Linked DNA regions of Homo sapiens: region 2 is linked to region 1. The links are contacts of gene promoters, found by promoter capture Hi-C in blood cells and fetal thymus (Javierre and others, 2016). All regions are on one chromosome and are shown on one strand. The core of a region is centred on a gene start or on the middle of the fragment in contact, and the rest is flanking DNA. Distances in the headings are between cores, read along the strand shown.

Region 1 (3,342 bases), core at 194-2,693:
CATTTTACAGCTAAGGTAACAGATTCAGAACACAGATATTTCTGATTGCAAAGCCCATACTTTTGCGGTTATGCCAGCCTTTCTTGTCTCCAAGGGGCAGGTGGAAACCCTGCTCAGGGTTGGAACTCTCCTGGAACGTTTCTAATGGGCTTCATCTTCACTCACTGCTCCGCCTTCCCCAAGGTGTTGTGATCAGAGGAATGACAGACTGACCATTCACTTGCTATTAGAGTTGGGTGAGGAGGAGGAGTCCCATAGTCTCCTGTCCTGCGGAACACAGCAAGGTGGTGGCCTTATTGTAAGGTCACTTGACCTGGAGAGGGTCTTCTCCATCTCTCCTTTCTGTGGAGCAGGAGAAGGGGTGGAGTAGGAAGGGAATGGGTCCTCCTGTCATGAGTGACCCCTTCATTGAAACTTACAGCTTCTCCAAACACCCCAGCAATTCATTTAATTCTCCCTCATCCTCCCAATAATACCAGGTGACACAGACTCCACAGTACCAGCAACCCCATTTTATAGGAGAGGAGGAAACTGATGCTCAGAGAGGTGATTTGTCCGGGGCTATACAACCAGAAACAGCCTGAGCCAAATTGGCGCCAGAGTCTATTGCCCAGAATCTCCTATTCCTCTTCTCTCCACCAGTCATGGTGGGTGGCATCCAGATCTTGGATGTTTCTCCCTAAATCAGGGGTAAAGGTGGCGCAATTCTAGGTCAAAGGTCATGAGATCTGATTTTACCAGCTTCTCCTCTCTCAGCTCCATATTTCTTCCTCTTTTCTCATCCAAGAGCAGGGACCTCACCCAGCCCCATTCCTGGCCTTTTGGAAGAACAGGGGTTGGGGGGGCGGTGTATCCTAGTGACTGATTAGGGCAGAACTCCTGGACCCCTGGGATTTATTTTGCTGTCTCTATTGGACACCCTCCCCATCTCAGCCTCAGCCTCCCACCGGCAGCCCCAGAGCCATGTTGGAGGGAGAGGCTTTTCTGTTTGGTTTGAGGCAGCCTGGGCCCCACACTGGGGAGAAAGGAGTTAAAGCCAGGTCCCAGGATCACCGGGACCGGGAAGTTCCGGTGGTCCAAACAGGAGTGGGTTGGGGGGACCCGCAGGAAGAGAGGTTTGGGACAAAAGGGGGGTGGTGCCAGCCATGCCAATCCCCATCAGCGCTCGGCATCCACTGGTAGACCGCCCCCCCACCCCTCCCCCAAGTTCCACGCCTAGTTTCTGCCTTCCCGCCCCAGCGGGCCGCCTGCACCCCACGGCCAGTCAGAGGCCCACCTGCGGCCACCTAGAGCCGAGAGGGGCTTGCCTCCCTGCTGCCGCACGCCCATTGTGTGCGCCGAGCCGGCGGAGGGGCTGCGAGGGGCGGGGCCGGGCGGGCGGAGGGAGGGAGCGAGGGAGGGGCGCGGGGAGATGCTGAGCCTACGGGGGAGGCGGCGGCGGCAGTGGAGAGAGCGGGAGGAGCGAGGGAAGGCAGGAAGGAGGCAGCCGAAGGCCGAGCTGGGTGGCTGGACCGGGTGCTGGCTGCGCCGCGCTGCTTTCGGCTCCCACGGCCTCTCCCATGCGCTGAGGGAGCCCGGCTGGGCCGGGCCGGCGGCGGGAGGGGAGGCTCCTCTCCATGGTCCAGAAGACCAGCATGTCCCGGGGCCCTTACCCACCCTCCCAGGAGATCCCCATGGAGGTCTTCGACCCCAGCCCGCAGGTGAGGCGTGGTGGCCCGGCCCAACGGGAGGGGGTCGCTCCCGCGGACCGTGTTAAGGTCGGCTCGAGAGGCGCGGGAGAGGAAGGGGTTATATGCCGGGCGCGGAGGAGAGAGGGATGCCTGCGCGCCCCCCATCCTTGCAGGTTGTGATTGATGGGCGCTGGGCCTGGGGCTGGGTGGCGATGCTGCGGAGCGGGGAGGGGGCGGGTGGGCTGCCTGTCACCCTCGCCTCCTTATCTCCCCCGCGTCAAGGTTCCTGCCGCTTGGGCACCAGCTTCAGTGGGCTGAGCGTGGGGGTGCTGGTGGAGGGGGATCTGGGCCTTGAGAAGGGGAGGTTGAAAGAGGCTAGAAAGCGAGCCAGGCAAGGGGGGCGACGCAGAGCACGCTCGGGGGCGCCAGGCGGGTGTGGGTGGGGCGGGGGTGGCACGAGGAGGTGGCCGAGGCGATGGTCAGAGGGCGGTGCCAAATGCCAACAGGCCTTCAAAGCCGCAGACACTGGTTCTCGAGGGTGGGGAAAGAGCCAACCCCGGTCGAGGTCCCCTCCCAGCCACCTGGGCTCCATCTCTATGTCGGACCTGCTCCCCTCCCCCCACACCCACGTTGACTTACCCCACCCCCACCCCCGCCCCAAAAACGCCTCCAAAGTTTGGAAAGTTGGATGGATGCCAACTCATAGGAGGGGGGGAAGCTGTTTTACCTGGGGGAGGGGTCTACTTCTCCATCCCCACCCGCACACTTTTCCTACACCCCTGGTTACTCCCAGGAAGTGGCATTCTTGGGCGCGGTGGGTTCTCATGGGGTGACCAGCAGGCTCTGGGATGGTCGCGCCAGGGGATTTCTTTGGGAGTGTCCTTCTCCAAGGATAGCATTAACTCTTCTGTTACTGTGGCCACCAGCTGTAACCACCATGATAATGTGACTGATGGGTATGTAGAGGGGTCAAGTCAGACCTAAAAATACCTTCCTCCACCCCAGGCCCCTTTGAGCCTGGGAGGCAGCTGACTGGGGCCTTCCTTTCAGCTGTCCCCTGTCCCTCTGAGTGCCACTCCCTTTGCCCAGCCTGGCAGTGGTGGGGGAGGGTGGTGTCTGGGATTCACTGGGTGATCCTCCTAGGTTTGTAGGGAGCATCACAACTTGAGTTGGGGTATATGTCTGGTTTGAGAGAAGGGCGGGGAGGGGAGGATCTTGGAAAGGTCCCCAGGGGCCCTCCTCTCCCATTTTCCATCCTCTTTCTTGTACCCTGATCCCAGCAGCCAAAGCCCCCAGTCTGGTCATGGCCCCTCCAGGTTCTTTGGCCAAAGAAAGTCTAGGATGGAGACCAAGGGCGGGGACTTGGAAGTCTGAGCCCTCACTCACTCTCCCCATTCTGAACTGGGCTGAGGCCAAGTGTGTGTGGGTACAAGCTGGGGAGGGCCAGAAGCAGCTCTTCTTACAAGAGGACTGGAAATACCTGACGCCCTTAACCTGAACGTGTGGCTTCCTGAATGGTCAGGCGGTATTTCCTCCACCCGGTCTCTGAGACTGAGCCAGCTTACCCCCTAGAGATCTGTGGGGCTGTGTCCTAGGCTCATGTGGTGCGGGGCCGAGGGACATTTAGATTGACGTAGCCTGATGGGTACCATGGGCATGGGGCATGGGCAGT
Region 2 (3,281 bases), core at 367-2,866, 190 kb before region 1:
TTACTGGAATGAGCCACTGCACCGAACTGCAAATAAATTTTAAATGCTTTAGAGGAACTTACTATTTAATGGAAAAATCCTTTTACAGAGGGAAGAATACAACTAATGATCTTTTTTTTTGAGATAGAGCCTTGCTCTGTCGCACAAGCTGGAGTGCAGTGGAGCTGTCTCTGCTCAGTGCAACCTCTGCCTGGGTTCAAGCAGTTCTCTGCCTCAGCTTCCCAAGTAGCTGGGATTACAGGCGCCTGCCACCATGCCCGGGTAATTTTTGTATTTTTAGTAGAGACAGGGTTTTACCATCTTGACCAGGCTGGTCTTGAACTCCTTACCTCGTGATCCACCTGCCTTGGCCTCCAAAAGTGCTAGGATTACAGGCGTGAGCCACTGTACTTGGCCTACTAATGACCTCTTTATTTATCTGACTCAGTTTTTGTTTGAGACAGGGTCTTGATCTATCACCCAGGTTGGAATGCAGTGGTGACATCAGGGCTCACTGCAGCCTTGACCTCTGGGGCCCAGGCCATCCTCCCACCTCTGTCTCCCCAGTAGCTGGGACTACAGGTGGGTGCCACCATATCTGGCTATTTTTTTTTTTTTTTTAAGATGGAGTCTTGCGCTCTGTCACCCAGGTTGGAGTGCAGTGGCGCCATCTCAGCTCACTGCAACCTCTGCCTCCCAGGTTAAAGTGATTCTCCTGCCTCAGCCTCCCTAGTAGCTGGGATTACAGGTGCCAACCACCACGCCTGGCTAATTTTTGTATTTTTAGTAGAAACGGGGTTTCACCATGTTGGTCAGGCTAGTCTTGAACTCATGACCCCAGGTGATCCACCTGCCTCGGCCTCTCAAAGTGCTGGGATTGATTACAGGTGTGAGCCACCGCGTCTGGCCAATTTTTGTATTTTTTTGTAGAGATGGGATTTCGCCATGTTGCCCAGGCTGGTCTCAAACTCCTGGACCTTGGCTTCCCAAAGTGCTGGGATTACAGGTATGAGCCACTGCACCCAGCCTAATCAGTTTTTTATATTGGGTTTATTAAACAGGAATGCCTATGAATTTTAATCTAGTTCAACAGTAATAATTTAGTAGTGTTTCAGTCTAGAATTTATACTGCAACTATTATTGTACTCATTGTTAGGCAAATATGAATAAGTGTCTCCTAAGATGAAAATCTGGCACCAAATTGTAAGTTGACATCTAAAACACTGGATCAGCAAGCTTTTAACCGCACCCTACCTCCGCCCCCAGAAATGGGTCATTCTTCCTTCTCTGATATGTAGAAAGTAAAGCTATGACATGATTAAACACAGACATTAAAGATGCATTTATTTATTTATTTGTTTATTTAGAGACAGAGTCTCACTCTGTCACCTAGGCTGGAGTTCAGTGGTGCGATCTTGGCTCACTGCAAGTTCCGCCTCCTGGGTTCACGCCATCCTCCTGCCTCAGCCTCCTGAGTAGTTGGGACTACAGGCACCTGCCACCACACCTGGCTAATTTTTTGTATTTTTAGTAGAGACAGGGTTTCACCGTGTTAGCCAGGATGGTCTCGATCTCCTAACCTTGTGATGTGCTTGCATCAGCCTCACAGAGTGCTGGGATTACAGGCATGAGCCACTGCACTTGGCCTGCATTTATTTTTTAAAACGAGCACTGCATTGCCAATACCCTTTCCCACTGCACTTGGCCTGCATTTATTTTTTAAAACGAGCACTGCATTGCCAATACCCTTTCCCGACATTCGTCCTTATCAGCTTTTTGAAAATCGTTTGCATGTGTTTCATGTAAAGAAAAGAAGGTCATATTAAACAAAATCATATCACAACTTATTTCTGCCACCCACTTGTAGAAAAGCAACCTGATGTATCTTGGCGTTCTCCTAGGACTGGTTAAAACTTTTCTTTAATACTATAACTTTCCTTGTACATTATCATGAATAGTAACTGCAGGGAGATAAGAAACTTCATTATTATTCAGTATTCTTAGTCACAGTTGACTGGGGTTATATAAAAGAAGCTTCCCAAATGTAGATCTAATTTTTTTTTTTTTTTTTTTTTTTTTGAGATGGAGTTTTGCTCTTGTTGCCCAGGCTGGAGTGCAATGGCGTGATCTCAGCTTACTACAACCTCCGCCTCCCGGGTTCAAGCGATTCTCCTGCCTCAGCCTCCCTAGTAGCTGGGATTATAGGCGCCTGCCACCATGCCCAGGTAATTTTCTGTATTTTTAGTAGAGATGGGGGTTTCATTATGTTGGTCAGGCTGGTCTCGAACTCCTGACCTCAGGTACTCCACCCACCTCAGCCTCCCAAAGTGCTGGGATTACAGGCGTGAGCCACTGCACCCGGCAGATCTAATTTTTTAAAGCACAACAAAAAATGCAGCTTTTGCCGGGCGCGGTGGCTCACACCTGTAATCCCAGCACTTTGGGAGGCCAAGGTGGGTGGATCGCGAGGTCAAGAGATCGAGACCATCCTGGCCAACATGGTGAAACCCCGTCTCTATTAAAAGTATAAAAATTAGCTGGGCATGGTGGCGGGCGCCTGTTGTCCCAGCTACTCGGGAGGCTGAGGCAGGAGAATTGCTTGAACCCGAGAGGCGGAGGTTGCAATGAGCTGAGATTACGCCATTGCACTCCAGCCTGGGCGACAGAGCGAGACGCCGTCTCAAAAAAAAAAAATTAAAAAAAAAAAAGCAACTTTTTTTTTTTGAGACAGGTTCTTGTTCTGTTGCCCAGGCTGGAGCCATAGTAGTGCGATCTTGGCTCACTGCAACCTCCACCTGCCAGGCTCAGGTGATTCTTGTGCCTCACCTTCCCGAGTAGCTGGAATTACAGTCGTGTGCCACCATGCCCAGCTATTTTTTTTGCACTTTTAGTAGAGATGAGATTTTGCCATGTTGGTCAGGCTGGTCTCAAACTCCTGAGCTTAAGCAATCTGCCTGCCTTGGTCTCCCAAAGTGCTGGGATTACACGTGTGAGCCACCATGCCTGGTCAAAATAAGTTTTTAATATAGAAAGAATACCAAGAAAAAATAATACCATTTTCTCAAGCATTTATATTACTTATTATTTCAATAATGTGAAATTTGCATTATAAGTGGTCTCAATAAATGGCGTTCTGAAGTTGTGGTCAAGATCTAGCTGATCCTCTAACCACTGTCAAATATATATTCAAATGAAATATGTAATTAACTCATCACATTACCTTTTTAGTTTTTATAATACAGATGGGACTGTGCCCTGATAAACCTATGATAAATTGAAAGTATCGTAAGTTGGAAACGTAG

The links. Contacts are between HindIII fragments. The CHiCAGO score rates a contact against its expected background, and 5 or more counts as called.
Region 2: a fragment that was not itself captured here is called in contact with the fragment with the promoter of CACNB1 in region 1 in 1 of 17 cell types (megakaryocytes); the score reaches 5.3 in megakaryocytes.

The regions. Positions count from the first base shown.
Region 1 is chr17:39,195,770-39,199,111 of GRCh38, reverse strand. CACNB1 (calcium voltage-gated channel auxiliary subunit beta 1) reads left to right here and starts at 1,443. Exons shown (of 14, transcript NM_000723.5): 1 at 1,443-1,700. The coding sequence starts at 1,617. RefSeq lists silencers at 1,146-1,275, 1,286-1,685, 2,116-2,245. The HindIII fragment of the contact is 8,246 bases long and covers 1-3,342 here.
Region 2 is chr17:39,387,882-39,391,162 of GRCh38, reverse strand. The region is part of intron 1 of FBXL20 (F-box and leucine rich repeat protein 20); the gene reads left to right. Among named protein-coding and RNA genes, the nearest start is that of FBXL20, 12 kb to the left of the region's middle. The HindIII fragment of the contact is 798 bases long and covers 1,218-2,015 here.